Regions from separate parts of the Homo sapiens genome. Here region 1 is linked to region 2. Evidence: promoter capture Hi-C in human tissues and cell types (Jung and others, 2019). All regions are on one chromosome and are shown on one strand. Each heading gives the region's core, a stretch centred on a gene start or on the middle of the fragment in contact. The rest is flanking DNA. Distances are from core to core; before and after follow the strand shown. Region 1 overlaps GNB5 (G protein subunit beta 5). Region 2 holds the start of DMXL2 (Dmx like 2).

What was found. Contacts are between HindIII fragments. The study calls those that stand out against the background at their distance.
Region 1: a fragment that was not itself captured here is called in contact with the fragment with the promoter of DMXL2 in region 2 in 1 of the 25 tissues and cell types used here (lymphoblastoid cells).

What each region holds. Positions count from the first base shown.
Region 1 is chr15:52,174,482-52,179,899 of GRCh38, forward strand. GNB5 (G protein subunit beta 5) reads right to left here. Exons shown (of 13, transcript NM_016194.4): 3 at 5,287-5,398. Among named protein-coding and RNA genes, the nearest start is that of CERNA1, 2.8 kb to the right of the region's middle. RefSeq lists a silencer at 4,956-5,418. The HindIII fragment of the contact is 3,781 bases long and covers 1,958-5,418 here.
Region 2 is chr15:51,620,304-51,625,694 of GRCh38, forward strand. DMXL2 (Dmx like 2) reads right to left here and starts at 2,468. Exons shown (of 44, transcript NM_001378457.1): 1 at 2,156-2,468. The coding sequence starts at 2,242. It overlaps LOC105370816 (a long non-coding RNA gene), which reads right to left. Exons shown (of 5, transcript XR_932236.3): 4 at 4,872-4,983; 5 at 4,381-4,522. RefSeq lists an enhancer at 1,606-2,015 and a silencer at 2,386-2,605. The HindIII fragment of the contact is 6,819 bases long and covers 697-5,391 here.

The sequences.
Region 1 (5,418 bases), core at 2,598-5,097, 560 kb after region 2:
CTGTGGAGTTTGATGTGAGCTGGCTTCCCATCAGAGGACCCATATAAGCTATTAATACTTCCTATATTTAATGTTGGCCAAGGGTCTGGCTTGGGGATGAGGGCCAAAGGGATGGAGGTGAAGAACTCAGTGTCTGAAGAGAGGAAACCATTTTTTCCTCAAAGTTTATGCTATACAATTTTAATATGTTGCCTTAAGCTACCTTAAGGCAAGAATTTGGGCAAGTCCAAGCCAATAGGAGGTAACAACTATCCTGGTTTGCCTAGGGCCGCAGGGTCTCCTGGGGTGCAGGACTTTCCATTTTAAAACCTAGGGTCTGGCTAGGCACGGTGGCACACGCCTGTAATCCCAGAACTTTGGGAGGCTGAGGCGGGTGGATCACCTAAAGTCAGGAGTTCGAGACCAGCTTGGCCAACATAGCAAAACCCCATCTCTCCTAAAAATACAAAAATTAGCTGGGCGAGATGGTGTGTGCCTGCTACTAGTGGGGCCGAGGGAGGAGAATTGCTTGAACCTGGAATGCGGAGGTTGCAGCGAGCCGAGATCGTGCCACCGCACTCCAGCCTGGGTAACAGAGCAAGACTCTGTCTCAAAAACAAACAAACAAACAAACACACATACCTAGGGTCCCAGGCAAACTGGGATGAGTTGATTACCTTAGCTGATAGCCTAAAGGGGTCTCCCTGACTAGGGCAGAGGCTACTGGGCCACCTATATAGCAACACTAAAATGCAAAAATGTACAGGCATCTAACACATGTTGCTCTGGGGAATAAACCATACCCCTCTGGTGTCAGCCGCATACCCTAATTTGGTACTATAAAACTCATGTGTCTGGCCACACATTCCCAATTCACAGGAAACCATCCTTGGATTCCAAAATGGGAAATATCTGCAGAGGTCATCACGAAGCAGGGGCTGGGAATCTCAGCTGGGCAAGAAACAAGGCCTGTGTGTGTCAGAAACAAATCTGTCAGGCCAGGCACATTAGCTCACGCCTGTAATCCCAGCACTTTGGGAGGCTGAGGCGGGCAGATCACCTGAGGTCAGGAGTTCAAGAACAGCCCGTCCAACATGGTGAAACCCGGTCTCCACTAAAAATACAAAAATTAGCCAGGCATGGTGGCACATGCCTGTAGTCTCAGCTACTTGGGAGGCTGAGGCAGGAGAATCGCTTGAACCTGGGTGGTGGAACTTACAGTGAGCTGAGATTGTGCCACTGGACTCTAGCCTGGGCGACAGAGTGAGACTCCGTCTCAAAAAACAAACAAACAAACAAACAAAAAACGGCCAGGCGCAGTGGGTCACACCTGTAATCCCAGCACTTTGGGAGGCCAAGGTGGACGGATCACAAGGTCAGGAGTTCGAGACCAGCCTGGTTAACACAGTGAAACTCTGTCTCTACTAAAAATACAAAAATTAGCCAGGTGTGATGGCATGTGCCTGTAATCCCAGCTACTCAGGAGGCTGAGGCAGGAGAACTGCTTGAACCCAGGAGGTGGAGGTTGTAGCGAGCTGAGATCATGCCATTGCACTCCAGCCTGGGCAACAGAGCCAGACTCCATCTCAAAAAAAAACAAAACAAAACAAACAAACAAACAAAAACATCTGTTAACTAAGGGGCTGCCAGTCACCATAAGAGATACAGGAAAGTGCATGCTGCCAGCCCCTGCTCTGGGGAGTGAACAGATTCAGTTTATGGTCCTCCCCAGCCTCACCAGACCCTTCCCACCTTCCCCCAGGCTCTCAGCCACTTGCTCAATGGGGAGCCCTGCAAAGAAAGCTGCATCATTCCTAAACTGAATCCTGGCCCAATCACTAACCAGCTGCATGACCCTGAAGGAATTATTCGACTTTGCTAAGCCTGCTCGCTCATCGCACAGATGGGGATGATACCACTTTCCTTCATACAGGGAAAAATGACAGCACTGTTGTTTGCACCTGGCAGGGCTCTAGCTTATACTTCCACAAGTAAAACTCATCAGCATCCTTTCCTCCCTTTCCCACCTGAGTGCCAAGGGACAAACACACTTAGGAAGGAGCTGGGCGAGTCTGGGCTGGGGTAAGGTAAGAGCGGCTGCAGGGTCAACTATGGGACCAAGACAAGCTCAGAAATCATCTCTCGCTCTTCCACCTTCAGCTGTAACTTCCATTAGGAGCTGGCAAGTGGCACGCAAGGTAGGCTCTCTGATAAGAGGGAAAGAGACATTTGTCAAGAACTCTTACCCCAGGTCACTTACCTCTCACACTTCATTTCCCTCCCTCAAGCTGTCTTGTTCTGCCACAAAACATGGCAGGCAGAGTGAGCCCAGTAAAGCAATCAGATCCATCCTCTCTCTCAAAACCCTCCAAGGGTTTCCCAACTCACTGGGAGTAAGAGCCCAAATCTTCACTGCACCCATGGGGTCCTGCATGAGCTCCCAGCATAACCTGCAGCTGGACTCTGCCCTGCATACTCCCCTCCAGACACACCTGCCTCCTCACTCTTCCTCAGATACATCAGATACACCAAACACACCCCCTCCTGGGGCCTCTGCCTAGCTCCTCCTTTTTTTTTTTTTTTTTTTTTTTTGAGACGGAGTCTCGCTCTGTCGCCCAGGCTGGAGTGCAGTGGCAAGATCTCGGCTCACTGCAACCTCCAACTCCCTGGTTTAAGCTATTCTCCTGCCTCAGCCTCCCAAGTAGCTGAGATTACAGGCACCTGCCACCATGCCCAACTAATTTTTGTATTTTTAGTAGAGACGGGGTTTCACCATGTTGGCCAGGATGGTCTCAATCTCCTGACCTCATGATCCACCCGCCTTGGCCTCCCAAAGTGCTGGGATTACAGGCGTGAGCCACCCTGTCGGTCCGAGACCCTGTCTCTTAAAAATAAAGATGAATAAAGAAAAGAATGGCTGAGTGCGGTGGCTCACACCTGTAATCCCAGTACTTTTGGAGGCTCAGGCGGGCAGATCACTTGAGGTCAGGAGTTCGAGACCAGCCTGGCCAACATGGTGAAGCCTACTAAAAATACAAAAATTACTTGGGTGTGGTGGCACATGCCTATAGTCCCAGCTACTTGGGAGGCTGAGGCAGGAGAAACACTTGAACCTGGGAGGTGGAGGTTGCAGTAAGCCAAGACTGTGCCATTGTACTCCAGCCTGGGTGACAGAGGGAGACTCCGTGTCAAAAAAAAAAAAAAAAGAAAAGAAAAGTAGAGAAATGAGAGAACCTGGCTGGGAGATCAGGAGACATGTCAAAGGGGAAGAGGTCAATACAGTGATAAGAACCTTCAAGAAGCAAAGGCTTTATGCGGGGTAGAAGAGAAGTGGTCTGGAAGCTGCAGGGGAATCAAGAGGGACACAACCACATGACTTCTGGTCTTTCCAGCTCACAAATTCTGACATATGCAGGTAGGGATAGACCCTTCCACTGTGGGTCTAAAATCTGGCCCTAGCTTTTGAGGGCACCACACTCTTGGCAGGACAAAAAAAAGTTTCTTCTTTTGGATTGACTACATTTGCCCCCTGAGGTTCCCTTTGAAAAGCTGCATCTCTGCTCTCTGTCTTAAGGCAACTTACAAATTCACAGAAAACCTGAAAATATCCAGGCATGCAGCCTGCACTATTGAATAAGTGAGTTTCTGGAGAACGCCCTCTGCATGAAGCTCAAAACGGGTTTGGCGAAAATAATCTGAAGTGAGCCTGAGCTGGCACTCTGATTGCCTGGGGGGAATCCGGGTCCCAACACTTAGCAGGGGACCTTCGGTAAGTCCTTTAATTCTTTGTGCCTCAGTTTCCTCATCTGTCAAATGGAGAAATTAGATGACCTATGAATACTTTTCACCATGTTGGCCAGGCTGGTCTCAAACTGGGAGAAGGATTTCTGGGAAAACTTTTGCTTTGCTTTCTTGATAGGGAGCAAAGAGAGATTGGTGTCCATATTCCCCCTTCTTCCTGCCTTGGATACAGAAGTGATGTTTGGAGCTGTGGCAATCATATTATAATCATGGGGCAAATGCCACTGCTCTAAGGTGTGGAGAAGAAAGGCAGAAGGAGCCTGGGTCCCTTGGTGGGGGGTGCATGGTGCAGCTGAACAACAGCAGGTGATCATCCACCTTTGCTCTTGTTATGTAAGAAAAGTAACTCTCAATTTGCATAACTACATTATTTGGGGTTTACAGTTAGTGATTGCTGGACAGGATTTCTAAGCTTAGAGTGCCTCCTATTTAAAGAAGACCCCTAGGAAAGCACAGCACACGCTAGATCCAGGTCATCCACTTCTCTTAAGTGATCTTCAGAGATCAAAAGGTAAAGGCCCTAGCACGAACCCCATTTTTCCATTCCACATAGAATGTAAAGGGTGGCATCGATTAGGAATGGCAGGAGAACAACGTCAAGGTGTGCAGGAGGGCACCGTGGGAGGTGCTCAGCAAAGGGGAGATGCCACCCTCAGAGCTCAAAAGTGAGCAGATACAACCACTTCCCCAAGCCTGGCCCCCAGCCCAAGCTCTGCTGAGGAGGAGCCCTCTGACAAAGTAAAGGAACGCTGTTTTGGCCAAGAGCCGCTGAACCTGGCTATTTAATCGCTCACTCATAAAAATCACAGAGCCAGTTCTGAATTACGGTGGTGGTGGTGAAGAATGCAAGTTTAAGATCGCTATGGCTTTTTTATGCCAATCCACCACATCGATCCAAAAGCTTTTTAAACAGCCTTAAACGAACTGAACGGTTGAATTTAGTGAGCTCCTCCGTTTCCCTTCTCTCTCCGTCATCCAGCTCCCCGCCCCAAGGATAGGGGAGAGGTTGGAAAAATGAGCTTTGAAATTGCAGTCTCATAAAAGCAAAACTGAGAAAAGATACAACAGTGATGGAGAAAGCCAGACGGGCATTAAAAAACAAAACAGGAGTCTCTCCTAGGCCGCGCCTACACGGGCTCGCCGCGCTCGCTCGTCACCACCGACACCCCACCCCCTGCCCTCCGCATGGGAGGGGCAAGAACGCGATCCGTTCGCAGCTTCCAGGCAGGTGATGAGGATAGCTAGTCCCGCGGTCCTCCGCTAGCTGGCGGCGGGGGTCGGCCAGGTGCCCGGACCCTCCGAGGGCCCCACCGCCGCGCGTCCCGGGGATCGGGACCGCTACCCGCGCCTCACCTGCGCGCCCGGGCCCCAGGGCCCTGCTCCCGGGCGGTGGCGCGGGCCTGGCTCCCGTCGCAGCCACGACCGCCCCCACCGCCCCCGCCGTCCCCGCCCGGGAAGTGGCGAGCCGGTCCGGCTTGCCCCGCCCGCCTCCCGGCCCGCACTCACGCTCCACATCGTGCAGCTTGGCTCGCTCCTCCTCCAGCTTGCCCTTGAGGCTCTCGGCCTCGCTCTTCAGCGACGCCAGCGTCTCGTTCTCGTGCAGCCCCTCGGTTGCCATCTTCGCGCGGGGACGCAGCG
Region 2 (5,391 bases), core at 1,218-3,717:
TATTTACATTTGTCAAAAGACCAAAATAACAGTGTCACAGGCAGGCATCCTAAACCACGTAAATTTTGAGTCGAATTTGGAAACCCAAAAGGACTGTCTTGTTGCAACATAAAAATGCAGTTTAGAGTAAGAAGATCAGTATGTAACAGAGGGGCCAAAGTGAGGAGTACATATAATTAAAAATAAAGTCAAAGATGGAGAATACTTGACAAGTTTACATTTCCTAACACAGCTATTAAAAACAATTACATATTCTTAAGCCAAGAGTAATATAGTAAAATGACACTTGAAGAAAATTATCCTAGCAGCGGTGTGGAGGATGAAGAAGTTATCGGACATGACAGTTTTGAAAGCTTTTATATTAATACCAATAAGATTGTAAAATAAGGTGGTGGTTAAGGATATGAAAAGGAGTAAATCTGGTAGACAGTGCAGAGTCAACTAGACTTCGTGAAACGCTGAATTAGGGAAGTGCAAGAAGATTTGAAAATGACTCTAAGCATCTGGTCACAAGTGGCCTACAGCATAACCACACCTGCACAGCACTAACAGTTCTTACACAGGCTTTTCCAGGCTGCATCTGAACCCGTTTATTTAGTTCTACATACCAGACCTGCCGTGAGACAGCACTCCACTTTAGATGGAAGCAGAAAACTACCACCACCATTCTAGCAGGAAAATATAACCAAAGATTCCAGCTTTGTTTCTTGATGAAAGAGGCCCACTCTTCTAACCCTGAGGAACTTCCTATCTGCACTACTGGGGAACAGGGAAATTTCTTCTCTCTATCCCCAAAAACCAAGATTCTCCACACACTTGAAGACAAAGCTCAGCTCTATATGAATATTTTAAGTCACATGTACATAAAACACAGATGACAAAAGGGGTCGTTCTAAACTGGAGCTAGGCCAAGTGGATTACACTAAAAAATTAAAATGGCTAAAAAGCAATCTTCTGGGGTTAATGTATCACAAAACGTCAAAAAATAAATTCTGTTCCAGAATGCACTGCTACATAATGATTCTGCAGTTTTGCTGAAGCTTTATTTTCCGCAGTTTTAAAAACACTGTTGGAAAGCAGACATCAAAGGGTTTTCCTTGTCTAAAAAGCATACCATTACGGAATTTCCAGTTTTATCAAGAAGAACAGTTTACAAAATATATTTAATAAAGGTCTGGCTGCCTACAGTTCCTTATAAGGAAGACCATGTATAAATTTCATTCTTTAAAAAAGAACTCAATTTATGGGAGTCTATCTATGAGTAAACGAAGCTCCAAGGCTTGGTTTAAACATTTCCACTCTCAAAAAGGACTGATGAGTCCAATCTCCTTGAGAAACATGTCTACTTCATCTAGCTTTTAAGGAGATTCTAAAACGTTATGTATACATACACTTTTCTCAAACAAGCACTGTTGTAAATTTTTCACATTGCCTTACTATATTAAAAAAAAGGCTACCTTACAGATTAAAATATTATCTAGGAGGATTACCAAACTACGACCTCCTGATAAATGAGACAGCTCTCCAAGCCACTGTGACTCTAACCTTTCCATTCTAAATCTTTCGGGCGCGGAGGATGAATTTTTCTATCTTTTTGTTGGAATTAAGATCCTGCATTATCAGGAGATACAGAGTCAGGCTTAAAGCCACAGACTCCAGCAGCTCCTCGCTGCCCTAGCACAGCGGGCAGGGGGAGCCAAGGCGCAGCATCGCCTCCACGCTCCGAGACCAACACCAAGTCTCTTCACCTCCACGCTCCGAGACCAACACCAAGTCTCTTCGCCTCCACGCCGAGAGCAGCTGCGAAACGGACGCTCTGGGGTTTCAGCCGCACCACCACTTTCCTCCACCGCAGACCGAAGGGCCGCCCTAGGAGGAGCCTTCTAGTCCAGTCACCTCAGGCCCGTTTGCTTGGGGTGGAGAGTGCGGTGGATTCCTAAGCCTTTCCCCTAACGGGTGATTTCCTACACCAGACGCAGGACCCACGGTCCCACGGGTCCCAGGGGGAACTAAACCCCAAGGCTGCAAAGGGGCCACGGGTGGGGCCCACCAACATCTCACAGCCTCCTGAGGAGGCGTGCGCCCTGGACAGGAGGTCCCTGCCCCCGCGTCTGGCCCCTGGTATCTTCCCCTAGGGCTCCCGGCCGCCGCTCACCGTGAAGGGGACATCCCCGACGCTGCCCACGGAGTAGCAGTTGTCTCCAGGGTTGACAGCTCCGGTGAGGACCTGATGCAGATGCATCTCCGGAGCCCGGGCTGGACAGAATGCGCGGGAGGTGCGACAAGCTCCGCGCCTGACCCTCCTCGGGCTGCGAGAGCCGTTTCCCTCTGTGCCTCCCTCGGAAACCCGCCCCGCGGAGGCTCTGGCTTAACTCCTCGCCCCCCTTTCGCCTTCCCTCCGCCTCGTCCCTGCCATGGGAGCTCCTCGACCGCCGCCGCCGCCCGGGTCGCCGCTCAGCTGCGGAAATGCCCGGATGTTCCCACTGCCTGCTGCACCGGCGCACAAATGCGGGAGGGCAAGGGTGCTTGTGAGGCGGGGGAGGGCACCGGGGGGAACGCGCGAGCCGGGAGCGTGCAGCAAGGGAGCGGGCCAGCGCGCGCGCCCACCGCGGGGGAGCGAGGTAGAGCCCTCCCCCCGCGGCAAAGCTCTCAGCTCAGTCTTTCTTCCCCCCATCACCCGCGTTTGCGCGTGCGCGCGCCGTGGTTTCCAGGGCAATTGCGCGCGCCACGCCGACCCGCCGTCCCGTGATTGCGCGCGCAGACGTGCGGGAGTTCCCTTGGAGCCTCCCGGGCTGTAGCCGCTGCGGACTGGGGCGGAGGTGGGGGCGGGGGCGAGTGGGGTGCAGGTCGCTCGGGGCCACGCAGCAGTCGGACGCCGGGGACGCGCCACGAGCCGGTTTTGCTGTGTTGAACGTATTCCAGAATACAGTGTGCAATGGTCAGTGCCGTTGACCTCAGAAGGACACCCGTCACCGGGAATTTCCACCTGGAGATATCTTAGATATCTTCAGTCTTTTCGAAAGTGCAGTACATAAGATATTTTATTTTACATAAACAATGTAGGCATCTTGCAACTATTTAGAGAAGCCATACTCCCCTGAAAGCTAATTATTTTGCTCCCACCTTTTGTCACGGTTATTCTAGACAGCAAAAAGCCGCCTTAGAGACGGGTGACTCCTTTCGACTTTTTTTCATGAGTAATTTCATGAATTAGCAGAATCGCCTGATTTTCCAAACTATCTGCTAAACTTTGAATGGTTGATAACAAGGATCATCAGCTCCCTGCCACAGGCCAATTCATGGCAAATGTTCTAACCCATACTATGCTTAAATCACAGGGTAAGGAAGTAGGGGACACCAAGACATAACTATCTGTAAAACCAGGCAGAACGCCAAAGGTGGTGTGATTGAGATATAAAAGTCTTTATGCACCACAGAAGAGGAAGAAGAATGTTGACTAAGGGCGTGGATAAGGCATTATGGAGACATAACCTGACATAAACGCTGAGTTTAATTTTGACAGGCTGAGATAGACAAGAAATGCTGCAAATACAGTACAGAAAATAGAGGGGGTGTTGAAGGTACAAAGATTAATGTTTGAGGCAGATGATTTATAGGGTAGGGAAAGTAAATAATACTTAGCAAGAGATCAAGGTATCCAAGTGGTCTAACTCTTGGCCTACCAAAACATATTATGGAGAGTCTTGAATGCTCCAAGAAGCCCAGATTTCACTCTGCATGCAGTGGGGGTATATCAGATGTTTCTGAGCAAAAATTTATATAATCAGAGCTGCTTTGGGAAGATGACTTTGTAGCATTTTGAAGCATAAAGGGAAGGGTGGGGAAGATTGGAGGCAAAGATCTGTCAGTCGTTGGTAATCTTTTCAGTAGAAAGTTGCAGGAGGAATGAAAAATAATACCTAATGACCTGCGGCATTCTCTCTCTTTCTCTCTCTCCCCCCTCCCTCCCCTTCCCTCCCCCCCCCTTCCTCCCTTCCCCCGCGCCATATCCAAGGGTTCCTTTTTGTTACTACTAGATTCTAGATGAGTCTCTTAATCTTTGACCTTCACTGCATTAGAAACCAAGTCAAAACTATCATCAAACAACAAATTGTACTCAGGTTTCCAAGAGTGTTACTAATTCACATTATTTAAACCATTTCACATTTGGCTCTTGTTTTACAGCATTCCATGAAGTTTTGGCCCATTCACACAGTTGTGAAGTTGTGAGCCTCTTTCTTCCTCTCGGTATCAAACTCAAAATCTGAAGCCTGTATCCACCTGTTCTCTTCCCTCATGAATCCTTTAAATGGCTTCTTGATAGCTGTATCTTAAGGTTGCAAATGACTAATTAAGTCTCCTGGAATTACAGCTGAGCCTTTTATTGTCCAATCTGATCAGTCAAAACTCACTCCAGACTAATATGGCAAGTTTCCTTGGTAGCCCACCAGGGCAGCTAGACCACACTTTTGACTGTCCACAATTTCATCTCTTCCTTGTTCATGCAAATTTTTTCATGGACCTAAAAACAAATTGGAAATTCTTTCTTCTAATTTTGGAAAGGGCTTTCTTTTAAAAATTAGAAAAAGTAGCAGTTTTGTATCATTAACAAAATATGCTAATCGAATTGTAAGATATAATTTATCATGTCCACAACTCTTTTTTTTTTCTTTTTGCTTTGATTTGAGATCCCAACACAACTCTTAATAGTACCTTTGGGGTTGGGTTTAATGGCCCATTGAATGTGTGCCATTAAATGTGGGACTTAGTTTCCCAGCAGTATCACCTACCGATGTGTACTAGTTATCAATTACTGTGCAATAAATTACCCCAAAATTTATCAGCCAAAAATAACAGTAGAGATTCATTACCTCACAGTTTCTGTGAATCAATAATTTAGTAGTAGCTTAGCAGGAAAGTTCTGGTTCAGAGTCTTTCATGAGATGGCAATCAAAATGTCAGCTACATGCTAAATAAAAGAAGCTGGACACAAAAGACCACATAATTCGTTTGTATGAAATCATTTGTATGAAATTTTCTGAAAAGACAAATCTACAGTCACAGAAAATAGGTTAGTGGTTGCCTGGGGCTGAAGGTGGAACTGAGAGTGACTGCTAATGGATATGAGGTTTCTTTTTGGCATGAGATAAACATTCTAAAATTAGATTGTGGTCATGGTTGGGCAGTTCTGTAAAATTACTAGAAATCATTGAATTGTATACTTGAAATTAGTGAATTGTATGGTAATTAAATTATACTTTCAATAAAGCTATCTAAAAAAGAAATAGCCAGGGATACAGTCATCTGAAGTCTTGACTGAAGTTAAAGGCCCTGCTTCCAAGATGGCAGGCTCTCATGGCTAGCAAGTTGAGCCTAATAGATAGATGGAGG